3 separate regions of the Homo sapiens genome follow, and all the other regions are linked to region 3. Evidence: promoter capture Hi-C in human tissues and cell types (Jung and others, 2019). All regions are on one chromosome and are shown on one strand. The core of a region is centred on a gene start or on the middle of the fragment in contact, and the rest is flanking DNA. Distances in the headings are between cores, read along the strand shown. Region 1 overlaps FARP2 (FERM, ARH/RhoGEF and pleckstrin domain protein 2). Region 2 overlaps HDLBP (high density lipoprotein binding protein). Region 3 holds the start of GAL3ST2 (galactose-3-O-sulfotransferase 2).

What was found. Contacts are between HindIII fragments. The study calls those that stand out against the background at their distance.
Region 1: a fragment that was not itself captured here is called in contact with the fragment with the promoter of GAL3ST2 in region 3 in 2 of the 25 tissues and cell types used here (dorsolateral prefrontal cortex and spleen).
Region 2: a fragment that was not itself captured here is called in contact with the fragment with the promoter of GAL3ST2 in region 3 in 1 of the 25 tissues and cell types used here (lymphoblastoid cells).

Annotation. Positions count from the first base shown.
Region 1 is chr2:241,485,181-241,489,225 of GRCh38, reverse strand. The region is part of intron 21 of FARP2 (FERM, ARH/RhoGEF and pleckstrin domain protein 2); the gene reads right to left. Among named protein-coding and RNA genes, the nearest start is that of MIR3133, 9.3 kb to the right of the region's middle. The HindIII fragment of the contact is 9,439 bases long and covers 1-4,045 here.
Region 2 is chr2:241,305,975-241,310,061 of GRCh38, reverse strand. The region is part of intron 1 of HDLBP (high density lipoprotein binding protein); the gene reads left to right. Among named protein-coding and RNA genes, the nearest start is that of HDLBP, 7.7 kb to the left of the region's middle. RefSeq lists an enhancer at 157-658. The HindIII fragment of the contact is 9,441 bases long and covers 1-4,087 here.
Region 3 is chr2:241,775,051-241,778,983 of GRCh38, reverse strand. It overlaps GAL3ST2 (galactose-3-O-sulfotransferase 2), which reads right to left and starts at 2,162. Exons shown (of 4, transcript NM_022134.3): 1 at 2,000-2,162. The coding sequence starts at 2,028. RefSeq lists enhancers at 247-866, 867-1,487, 1,488-2,108, 3,350-3,933. The HindIII fragment of the contact is 16,655 bases long and covers 1-3,933 here.

The sequences.
Region 1 (4,045 bases), core at 1,244-3,743, 290 kb after region 3:
AGGACCAGCCAGTTACCAACAACTCCACAGAATGGACAGCTTCCCTGTGCAGAGCCTGATACACCAACCAAGCCTCTCACTGGACATCAAAAATCTGAATCAACATAAGCAAGGGCAGGCAAAACATTGTCCAGATGTTAGTCTTCCCGTAAGTTAACACAAAAATTTAATGCAATTTCAACTGAAATCTCCATGGTGTTTTTGTAAGGAATTTGTCCAATGACTTAGAAGATTACTTGGAAGAATTAAATGCTTGAGAATAGCAAAGAATCTTTTTTAAAAGGAGGCAGAATAAGGGATGGAATGTGTTCACCAAACAGTGACTATCTCATATGACACCACTAATGAGAGAGAGTGGACTGATGCTGGACAGACAGGAATGGAGCAGAATGCCCAGAAAGAACTCGAGTGCAAAGACACAGGCTTCCATTTGATAAAGTCTGAGATCAGTGAGAAAATGAAGGATTCAACAAATAATGGGGAGAAATGTTACATCTCAATCTAATATCTATCAAAACAAATTCTAGGCCAGGCACGGTGGCTCACACCTGTAATCCCAGCACTTTGGGAGGCCGAGGCGGGCGGATCACAAGGTCAGGAGATCGAGACCATCCTGGCTAACACGGTGAAACCCCGTCTCTACTAAAAATACAAAAAATTAGCCACCTGTAGTCCCAGCTACTTGGGAGGCTGAGGCAGGAGAATGGTGTGAACCCAGGAGGCGGAGTTTGCAGTGAGCCGAGATCGTGCCTGGGCACTCCAGCCTGGGACACAGAGCAAGACTCCATCTAAAAAAAAAAAAAAAAAAACCAAAAAAGTAAAAAAACAAATTCTAGGGAGATTAATTAAATGAGAAAACTGAAACCATTAAAAGGTGCCAATATAATATTGGCATGGGGAAGAACTTCCTGAGCCCATACTAAGGATAGAAACCCTCAAGGAAAAGACAGCCAGAGCTGACCCTGATAGGCCCTGATTTTTCAACTTTATGATGGTGTGAAAGTGATAAGCATTCAGTAGAAACGGAACTTCAAGTGCCCATACGACCATTCTGTTTTTCACTTCCAGTTTGGTATTCAACAAATTATGTGAGATATTCAACACTTTGTTATAAAATAGGCTTCATATTAGATGATTTTGCCCAACTGTAAGCTAATGTATGTTCTGAGCACATTTAGAGTAGGCTAGGCTGGCTCACGCCTGTAATCCCAGCACTTTGGGAGGCCGAGGCGGGTGGATCACGAGGTCAGGAGATCGAGACCATCCTGCCTAACACGGTGAAACCCCGTCTCTACTAAAAAATACAAAAAATTAGCCAGGCGTGGTGGCGGGCGCCTGTAGTCCCAGCTACTCAGGAAGCTGAGGTAGGAGAATGGCGTGAACCCGGGAGGTGGAGCTTGCAGAGAGCCAAGATGGCACCACTGCACTCCAGCCTGGGCGACAGAGCGATTCCATCTCAAAAAAAAAAAAAAAAAAAAAGAGTAGGCTAGGCTAAGCTATGACATCAGAGAGGTTAAGTGTATTAAATGCATTTTCTTTTCTTTCTTTTTTTTTTTTTTGAGAGGGAGTCTTGTTCTGTCACCCAGGCTGGAGTGCAGTGGTGTGATCTCGGCTCAGTGCAACCTCCGCCTCCCAGGTTCAAGTGATTCTTGTGCTTAGCCTCCCGAGTAGTTGGGACTACAGGTGCCCACCACCACGCCTGGCTAATTTTTGTATTTTTAGTAGAGACAGGGTTTCGCCCTGTTGGCCAGGCTGGTCTTAAACTCCTGACCTTAGGTGATTCACCCACCTCAGCCTCCCAAAGTGCTGGGATTACAGACGTGAGCCACCGTGCCCTGTTAAATGCATTTTTGACTATACTATTTTCCTCTTACAATGGGTTTATCAGGGCATAGCCCCATCATAAGTTGAGGAGTGTCTGTTTCAATTCACACCTTCAACAAGCATTTGCTGGGTTCCCTATATGTGCCAGATGCCATTCTAGAGTAAGAGAAACAGAACCCATCAAGATGGAGTTTAAATTCTACAAGGTAAAACTAAATTGTAGGCAAAGTAAAAAGCAGTTACTGAGAAAATAATTTGTGACTTAATAGTGTTGGTGAGCATTATCATATAAACATTTCACTAATGTGTACAAAAAACTCACAGACCAATGGAGACCAGAGTGACCAGCACGCTGAGTGATTCCTGAGAGGAAAAGCATGGAATGCCAGGACACAGGGGCCAGGCTGGCCTCACCGACAGTCCGCAGGGATGCAAAGTGAAATGATGGGGCTGCTCGATGGGGCTGCTTACCTTACCCACTTGGGAAGAGTAAGAGAGACAGGTGCCTAGCACTTTCCATGGTGGAGGGAAAGATGCATGTTTAGACCTAGCTCCTGCAGGTGGGAAGGTCAGCTGGCGCAGGTGCTCCAACAGCAATTTAGCAGGAGTGCCCAAGGCCGTAAACACCTTTGCTCAGACAAATCTACATTTTGGAATTGATCTGAAGGACATAATTAAGGATGTGCAGAAAGACAGAGATCCAACAATGTTACAGTCCTCAACAACCAGCCACAGCCAAGCGTCCAGTGACAGGTGACTAGTTAAGTGAACTGGGGCTGCCATGAAAGGAAAGGAAAACCAGTGTCCTGACAAAACAGCCCGTGGGTGATGGCAACCATGCAGCAGATGCCTGCAGCCATCACTGCTGAGTGGGTACGATGATAGAGTTCTTTTTCTTGTTTCTTTTCTCTGTGTTTTTTTTTTTTTTTTTTTTTTTTTTGAGACGAGGTCTCACTCTGTCACTGGGGCTGGAGTGCAGTGGTACGATCACGGCTCACTACAGCCTTGACCTCCTGGGCTTAAGTGATTCTCCCATCTCAGCCTCCCAAGTAGCTGGGACTACAGGCACACACCACTTTTGCTCAGCTAATTAAAAAAAAAAAAAAAAAAAAAAGATTTTTGGAGATTTGGCTTCGCCATGTTCCCCAGGCAGGTCTCAAACTCTCAGCTTCAAGCGATCCTACCATCTTGACCTCCTAAAGTGCTGGCATTACAGGCGTGAGCCACAGCAACTGGCCAGTGATGAGTGATTTCTGTCTTATACTTTCAATTATTTTTTTCTATAATAAAGGTGTAATTTTTAAAAGTATACTTTAAAACAAATGGGGTCTGCTTCCGGTGGTGGCAGATGAGCTAATTCAAACTGACCTCTTCTTGCTGAGGGCCTGAGAAGTGGAATTAAATTTTACAAACACCTGCCTGAGGGTTTTGGCGCTCATTGTCAGGAGGAGGCAGTGCAGAGGGATAAGACCCTTGAAGAAAGAACAGGGAAAGAGGACCCCAGGGAGGGAGGACCCCACTGGGGGAGGAAGGACTCCAGGGAGGGAGGACCCCAGGGAGAGAGGATCTCAGGGAAGGAGGACCCTACTGGGGGAGGGCCCTGGGGGAGGAAGACCATGGGGAGGGAAAATCCCAGGGAGGGAGGACCACAGGGAGCAAAGGAGGACCCCAGGAAGGGAAGATCCTAGGGAAGGAGGACCCCAGGGAGGGAGATCCCAGGAAGGGAAGATCACAGGGAGTGAGGGAGGACCTCAGGGAGGGAGGACTCCAGGGAGGGAATATCCCAGGGAGAGAGGACTACAGGGAGCAAGGGAGGACTCCAGGAAGGGAAGATCCTAGGGAAGGAGGACCCCAGGGAGGGAAGATCCCAGGAAGGGGAGATCACAGGGAGTGAGGGAGGACCTCAGGGAGGGAGGGAGAAGCCGATGGAGGGAAGATCCCAGGGAGGGAGGGAGGACTCTAGGAAGGGAAGATCCTAGGAAAGGAGGATCCCAGGGAGGGAGGACCACAGGGAGGGAAGATGCCAGAGAGGGAGGGAAGATCCTAGGAAGGGAAGATCCCAGGGAATGAGGGAAGATCCCAGGAAGGGAAGATCCCAGGGAGGGAGGGAGGACTCTAGGGAGGGAAGATCCTAGGAAAGGAGGATCCCAGGGAGGGAGGACTACAGGGAGGAAAGACACCAGAGAGGGAAGACCACAGGGAGTGAGGAAGGACCTTGGGG
Region 2 (4,087 bases), core at 34-2,533, 470 kb after region 3:
GGGTTTTTGGCTTTTGTCAGCCTTTTCTGGGCTATGCAGTGATGTTCTTGTGCCTGCTCGTGAGTCAGAGGGCCTCTGAGCCTGTGTCTGTGGCTGACTGTGGCTTTCACTGCAGAGGCACCTGGCTGGGCCATTTCCTTACAGCACCCTTGTCAGCTTCTTTGGGTTTCTTCAGATTCCCCAGAGAAATATCTTGTAGCCCTTTGCCTGGCTGAGTGGCCAAGTGAGGAGAGAGGCCTGGGAGCACAGCAGTAACCATAAAAGAGCTTACTTCCCTCTTTTCAGAATTGTTTCCCTCCTCTGTAACTGGTGTCCCCAGTCCAAAGATTCTACTTCCCTTTGCAGACAGAAAAGCGATACCTTTTTGCCAGGATAGGAGAGGGACTGTGCAGGTTGGCTCTGTGTGGCTGTGCAGAGTTGTGGGGTGCATCTTAGGGATCTTCGTGCCTTTTAAACCTATCAGCCAACTCTGTTTTTAATTCAGGTCTCCTGGCTTCCAGTCATATTGCCAGTTGGCCTTCCCCATTGCCGATACAGGATTCAGCCCTTTTAGGTCTGTTTCCAGTTTCTAGCCTCCAGTATTTTAATGTTCTTATCTCTATTCTTATTCTTTGCTTTCGTGATTTGTATCTTAAAAAAAGAAAAAATCGTTTACTATCATTTTAGTGGTGCTTCACGAAGTAGTGTAAATGTATTGATCTGACAACGGCTCGTGCTGGAGACACTGTTCCAGGAAGTGGGACACAGTAAGGAAAATGCAAGTGTGTTCTCCTGCACTTTCACGGAGGTCACGTTTTGGTAAGCGGTGTCAGGCAGTCAGCAGACCAGCAGATATGCAGTATGTCCAATGTGGACAAGAAGAAAGGAGGAAAATAAAGTATCGAGGGGAGTGGAGTGGGGGACACAGTGGCAGTTTGGCATAGTGGGGAGGCCTTGCTGATTGAGCGACAGTTGATTCAAACTTGAGATGAGCAAACAAGCCATGGGCAGCGATCTGGGGAAGAGCGTTATAAGAGGAATGGACAGGAGGTGAAAAGCACGGGGGCAGGACTGTGTTGTGCACGTTAGAGGAATGTGGAACACCAGTTATTAGACCAGTGTGGAGCAGGACCAGAGGGTGTAGGAGACGGGCAGGTCAGGGAAGAAGCCGGGGCTCCTAGCAGTCGGATCTTGATGCCTTTGGAGAGCTGGAGCAGAGTGACCCAGTACTGGTGGTGGATCGTGGTGAAGTGACCATGGGCCACACCATTCACGACATTTCTTACTTTTCCTGTCACCTGTAGGAGGCAAGTATTGTTGTTATCACAGGTCGAGGTAGACCCTGAGGCAAAGGCTAGAGTTAGTGGTTTGGCTCCAGTTTGTGCCTTCAGCTACTTCACTGCTTCCCTAACCTGGCCTTGTCAGTCAGCCTCAGTCTACCATCTACCCAGGTCTGCATACCCCGCAAAACAGTATACACTTTGACGCTTTTCTGCAAGCACAATTACCTTTTGGGGGAGCCCTTCTCTTAAAGCAGAGTAGGTTAATGTTTGTGAATGAAACGGAACTTTGGCAGGCTGAGGTGTCTCAGGTCATCAGCTTACGTTGTCTACTGTGTGACTAATTGAGGCAAAAGATGTCCTTTTTAATAGTATTTTCTCATCACTTTTGCCTGGGTGCCCTTTAGGAATGTTATTTTTGGCATACAACTTGAGTTTCACTTAAATTTATAATTCTTTCTGTTCATTCCTACTGCTCTGTTGCCCAGATGTGGATTTTGCTTTGTCTCACAAGCGTTGCTGAAACACTGGTAGAAAGGTGGACGACGGATTGGTTGTGATTAGTTTGATCTTCACAGTACAGAAATTCAAAAGGTCAATAAGCTCAACAAGATTGCTGTCTCACTGATGATCAGAGTTGCCATTAAAATCGTATTTCCCGCACATCAGGCTGGAAAAAAGAATAAACATGATCATTTTAGTTGTCCTCAAAGGAGAAGAGGACAGGTATTCTGTAATCAGGTGTTGTGAGTGTAACTAGTTAAACTCTTTGGGAGGTGGGCAGTTTTACCTTGGCAATATCTATCAATGCATTGCCTGTCATCATATAATTCCATTTCCAATTCAATTTATCCTGTGGGGGTAGAGGCCCAAGTGAGCAGAGGATGTTCTTTCCAGCATTGTTTATAATCGCAAAAAAAAAAAAAAATTAGTTCAAGGGTCCTATCAGTAGGGGATTTATTAAGGTATGTTTACTCCACTCAACATGTAGTTGTTAACAAATGAGGTAAATTTGTATTTGGTACTCGGAAAGATGGCCATGGTGTCTTTTCAAATGAAAATAAGTGTAGCAGATGGTGAAAGAATGCATGTAAGATCCTATTTTTATTTAAATCATGTATTAAAATTATAATTAAAGTATAATTAAAATTACAGTTTTGAAGATACAGTTTAGAATATATTTTTTGGTAAAGCCTCATGGGGGGGTTGCCAGTTTTTACATTGTTTTGTTGAGTTATCTTTTAGAATATTTTTAAAGCTAAAAAATCAAGTTCCTTGGTAGACCATCACTACAGCAAGCCCACTGCAGTATTAATCTATTAATACTGTCAATGTTAATTAAACCATTATTCGTGTAGCCCCTACCCATCCCATTCCAGTCTCTCAGGAGGCTTAGCTGTATCCCAGAGACCCCAGTGCTATGACCGCAGGTCTCTCCTGGGGCAGGAAGAGGTAAGAAGTGGCTGATGTCAAAGTCAACAGTCAGCAAGTGGCGTGAGCAGTCTCGATGAATTCTTTCAAATAAGCGTTTTTCAGATCCACTCTAGGGCTTGCCTTTTCCCTCTGTTGTAGTCTCAGAAGTTCTTGAGGTAGACCTTGTGAGACCTGCAGCAGTACTTGCTGTCTTAGGTACAGAAGGCAGGATATTGATTATTTCTCCCTGACTCAACAAAGAGTTGAGATGTTTATCCAGGTTAGGATGACACTGCCCCCCTGTCCCCCCCGCCCCCCAAAAAAGAAACAAAAATGAAAGGATGGTGTCTTTGACTGTACTGGGAGTCAGGAGACCTCACTTCAATTTTGGGCTTTTCCTCGTTTTTTTTTTTTTTTTGAATAGGTTCAGAGCTACTCCCTGGACCTGTTCTTATCAGCCTTATGACTTGGGGACTTGGGATACTTTTTTTTTTTTTTTTAATTTATTGAGACAGAGTCTCTCCCTGTCACCCAGGCTGGAGTATGACAGCATGATCTCCGCTCACTGCAACTTCCGCCTCCCGGGTTCAAGCAATTCTCCTGCCTCAGCCTCCTGAGTAGCTGGGACTACAGGCATGCACAATAGTAGAGATAGGGTTTTGCCGTGTTGGCCAGGCTGGTCTCGAATTCCTGACCTCAAATGATCTGCCAGCCTCGGCCTCCCAATGAAGTGCTGTGATAATAGGCATGAGCCACTGCTCCCAGCCTGACTTGGGGTACTTTTTGACCTGTAGGATTTCAGCTCCTTTCTTTTAAAAATAAGAAAGCTGAGGCCAGGCGCAGTGGCTCACGCCTGTAGTCCCAGCACTTTGGGAGGCTGAGGCGGGCAGATCACCTGAGGTCAGGAGTTCGAGACTGGCCTGACCAACATGGAGAAGCCCCGTCTCTACTAAAAATACAAAACTAGCCGGGCGTGGTGGCTCATGCCTGTAATCCCAGCTGTGGGAGGCTGAGGCAGGAGAATTGCCTGAACCTGGGAGGCAGAGGTTGCAGTGAGCCGAGATCACGCCATTGCACTCCAGCCAGGGCAACAAGAACAAGACTCCATCTCAAAAAAAAAAAGCTGAATCTCTGAGTGGGTTTTTCATTTTTCATTTTTTTTTTTAAACAGATGCCTCAGAACCTGGGTAACTCAGTTTATCAGAAATTCAGTTTTCAAGTTTGGAAGGATAACACTTGGAGCTGGTAGTCACTCATAAAACATCTGATTTTGTGATCACGTTTAAGAATCCATGAATGATATAAAAATCCTCACCTATTAAAACTTTTTGGCCGGGCGCGGTGACTCACACCTGTCATCCCAGCACTTTGGGAGGCTGAGGTGGGTGGATCACGAGGTCAGGAGATCGAGACCA
Region 3 (3,933 bases), core at 913-3,412:
GCCCCCCATTGTATTCAAAGTCTCCCCTCTGCTCACTGAGATAAATGCGTATCTGACTGCCTCCTTTGGAGAGGCTCATCAGAAACTCAAAAGAATGCAACCATTTGTCTCTTACCTGCCTGTGACCTGGAAGTCCCCTCCCCACTTGGAGTCTTCCTGCCTTTGCTTCGAGCCGTCCTGCCTCTCCAGACCGAACCAATGTTCGTCCTGCATATGCGGACTGATGTCTCATGTCTCCCTACAATGTATAAAGCCAGACTGTGCCCTGACCACCTTGGGCACACGTCATCAGGACCTCCTGAGGCTGGGTCATGGGTGCACGTCCTCACCCTTGGCAAAGTAAGCTTTCTAAATTAACCGAGACCTGTCTCAGATTTTGGGGGTTCACACCGGCATGGTGACCCCCATGGGCTCTGTACCACATCTTCTCTGATCATGAGTCCCCTCCTCCCCAAAGATACCTGGCCACACCCCAGGGAGGCAACACCCCCAAGTGCCATAGCTCAGAGTTTTGTGCCTGAATCATCACCAGCAAAACAAAAGATCAGCAAGCATCCAAGTGAGCACTTTGCCCGGCGGCCTGGATTTCCCGTGGCCGGTGGTCAAGACTAGGCCTCACTAGCGCAGGCAAAGTCTCTCCTCTGTTCTGGGCAGCTCCTTGAATCACCCAGGTGGGTGCCAGTGGCACCACACACTACCGTCCCCTTTGTCCCCAGGGCTGTTGATTTGTTCCACCCACAGGCCAAGCAAGCTGACACAAGCGAGGTGAGCCTCCCACACTTGCCCAACCCCAGGAAAATAAATGCGAGGCTCAGGAAGGCTGCTGTCCAGGGCTGTGGGGAAGTGACTCGGGGCTTCCCTCCTGCAGGCCGTGCTCAATGAAGCCTGGGACACCCGGAGCCAAAGCTCCCTGGCCTTAGTGTGGGACGTGCAGCCTGCATGGGCTGCTGCAGTGAGCCCATCCTGCCAGGCAGTGAGACCAGCAGCTGAGGAGCCTGTGCCCTGGGCTCCCCGAGGGCCTTCGGCTGCAATGCCTCCCATGTCTCACCCACAGAGTCTCAGCTGGGGTCAGGCACACCCGCCCTGGCCGACCTCGGGGGGCCCCAGGGCAGCCAGGGGGGCCCTAGCTTGGCCACCAGCTAATCAAGTGAGCCTGATTCCCCAGCCCCTGGGCCTCTTCTTCACAATATGGTCACAATGTCCACAGGAGGGGGCATCTAGGATGGTCCAGGCCAGGCAGCCGGCCCCACACCTCTCAGCCCTGTGACGGGGTGTCCTCAGCCAGTGTCCTGGCAGCTGGTCTTAAGTCACCCCTTAAAGGAAGGTAACTGAATTCATGGCGGCACACGCCCCGGGGAGGCAGGGACCTGCCAGCGCAGGGACGGCTTCAAACTGCCCTGGAATCACCCCAAACAGGATGGCGAGCAGGAGAAGGAAAACGCAAGGCATCCTTAGCCACACCCACCACCCCTCCAAACCTAACTGGGAAGAAATCCACCTCCCCTCTGTTTACAGAAGGGAGACAGCACAGCAGAGCCCAGCCTCCCCGTCACCACCCAGAGCCCCGGGAGCATCCTGAAGCGCACGCATGACCAACGCTCCAGCAAGCGCCTGGCACTCCCACCAACACGGCCCAGCCATGGGCCTGAGCCGCAGACCGAGGCTGGGAGGTCCCAAGCCCAGCAGGTCTCACCCTCCCCAGCCGTCACGCGGACACTCGAGCGTCTCCACGCCACAGTGTTGGGGGGCAGCTTTCTCACTGGGCCCCACATCCCAGAACCCCCAAACACCCAGAAGCAGCACCAGGCCTGGGCAGGAGGGGCCCCCTACTTCCGAAACGAAGCCAAGACAGGTGAATTCAGGGAAGCCTGAGTAGGAACAGCCTCCAAATCCAAGTCACTTCCTTCGAAAGACAAACAAAACCCACTCCTGTCCGTCTCTCAGAATAGCCACAGATGAAGCGCTTTGTCCACCTGGGGGGTCCAACTGCCCCCCTTACCTCTGCAAGCCGCCCAGCATGGACATCATCTTGGCCTCTGGCCTCCAGCGAGGGGACAGTCGAGGCTTGAGCTCCCCCGAGGTCCCACCGCCTCGGCCCCTGCCGGCTCTGGGCTCCCCAGGGTGCAGGCACAGGCAGGGTGCGGCTGTGGGGCAGGTGAACTGGAATCCCCAGAAGCTCACCTGCCTCCTGGGACGGGAGCCACGCCCTCTCCCCGCACCTCCATCGGAGGGCTTGGTTTTAACTGTTCTGTTCTCGGGAAGAACTGGCTGAGGGAGTCTGGGGAGCCCTCGATGGGCCCCTGTGTTCCCCAGGCCCTGGGAGGACCTGCCTGGGGCCTACCCCTGCTCCCCTGCCCCACCCTCAGTGTCCATCCCCCCGGGGGGCTTGGAGGGAGCTGTCCCCACAAGGGACGGGCTTGGTGGGCTCCAACAGCACAGCGACGGCTTCTGGACTCAGAACTCAGGACCTGACGCAGACGAGAGGGCAGAGGGCCCTGTGGCCACTGCAAGGATGAGCGAGGAAAGCTCAGCCCAATTCCCAGCTTCCTCCCCCTCCTCGTCCTCCTCTTCTTCCTCCCCCTCCTCCTCCTCCTGAGCCTGCTTCACACCAAAAGAAAATCTGACTTTTTAAAATCTTGGGCTGGACAATAAGTTTGAAACAGGACATGGAGGTGGAAAATAAATATAAATATTTGTTTAGATTTTACTGCAAGAAAGTTCATTTCTCTTTTCAGGAAATAGATATTAATTCCGAGACAAGCAGCCAGGGAAATGCTGCAACATTGTGACCAGGCGCTACAGTGAATCCACAGGAAAACGCAAATGCTCCTCAGAGCTACGGGCCACGCGCCATGAGTCACCACCACCCTCGCCACATCCCACCAGCGCTGGTGCCCACCATGCCCTCCGACGCCAAGCTCTCCACACGGCTGGTCACCTTCCCACAACCCCTCCCTGTCGGTGCCAGCTGAGCCTGGATTCCGGGACTGGCCCCAGCCCAAGGCAGCCTCCCTGCCCTAGCCAGTGCCTGGCTCGGATGGGTGCAGGCCCCATAGCCATGGAGGCAGAAACAAGGCTGGGCTGAGGGGCTCAGAGGAGGGGCCGAGCACACATGGACCTCCCTGGCATCAGAGACCCTGGGCTGGGCGGCTGCTGGCGAAAGGCCCAGAGACCCCCAGCCTCCCTTCCCCATTTACCTCCACCTGCAGCCCAGGGGCCTGGCATCTCCGCCCCCGCCTAGGCATCACCCTCCCAGCTGCTCTGTAGACCTCCAGAGCCCGAGTCTGTGGGAGGGGCCAGCAGAGCAGCTCCCGGTGCTAACGGCAGGTGGGAGGGATGCCGGGGCCTTGCTGGCACGGCTGGGCAGCTCTCCACCGGCGTGCCCTGCATCCTCCGCATTCCACTATCCAGAGACATCCGTGTGGGTGTTCACTCCACCATTAAGGAGCCTCCCTGCTGCTTCCTCCACCCACCCTGCCCAGGGCACCACAGGCTCAGCCTAGGAACAAAGAAGATGGCGCCTCATGGGTCCTTACCCCAGAATCACCTTGGCCGAGCCATGTGTTACAAACGGTGGGGCCGGTGGAGAGCAACCTGCCAGGGACACACGCCTGAGGGTCACGGCCAGGCACCTCCCTACACACGCCTGAGGGTCACGACCAGATGCCTCCCTCCCAGGTCAAAGTCCCCAGCTCTCCAGATCCCAAGTGACTTATGGGGCCTGAGCAAGAAGTGTGGGCCTGGGCAGGGGGTCCTCAGCCACCAGCCACCTTCACCCCCTGCTGGGGCAGACAAGGGCAGTGCAGTGTGGTGTGGAGCGGTGGTCCCAGCCCCAGGCTGGGAAAGGGACGGAGGCCCGGCGGCCAGAGGGAGGAGGCTGCCTGTTGCCAGTGGGGCCCTGCTGGGAGCCCCAGGGAGTCAGGGTGTCTGCCC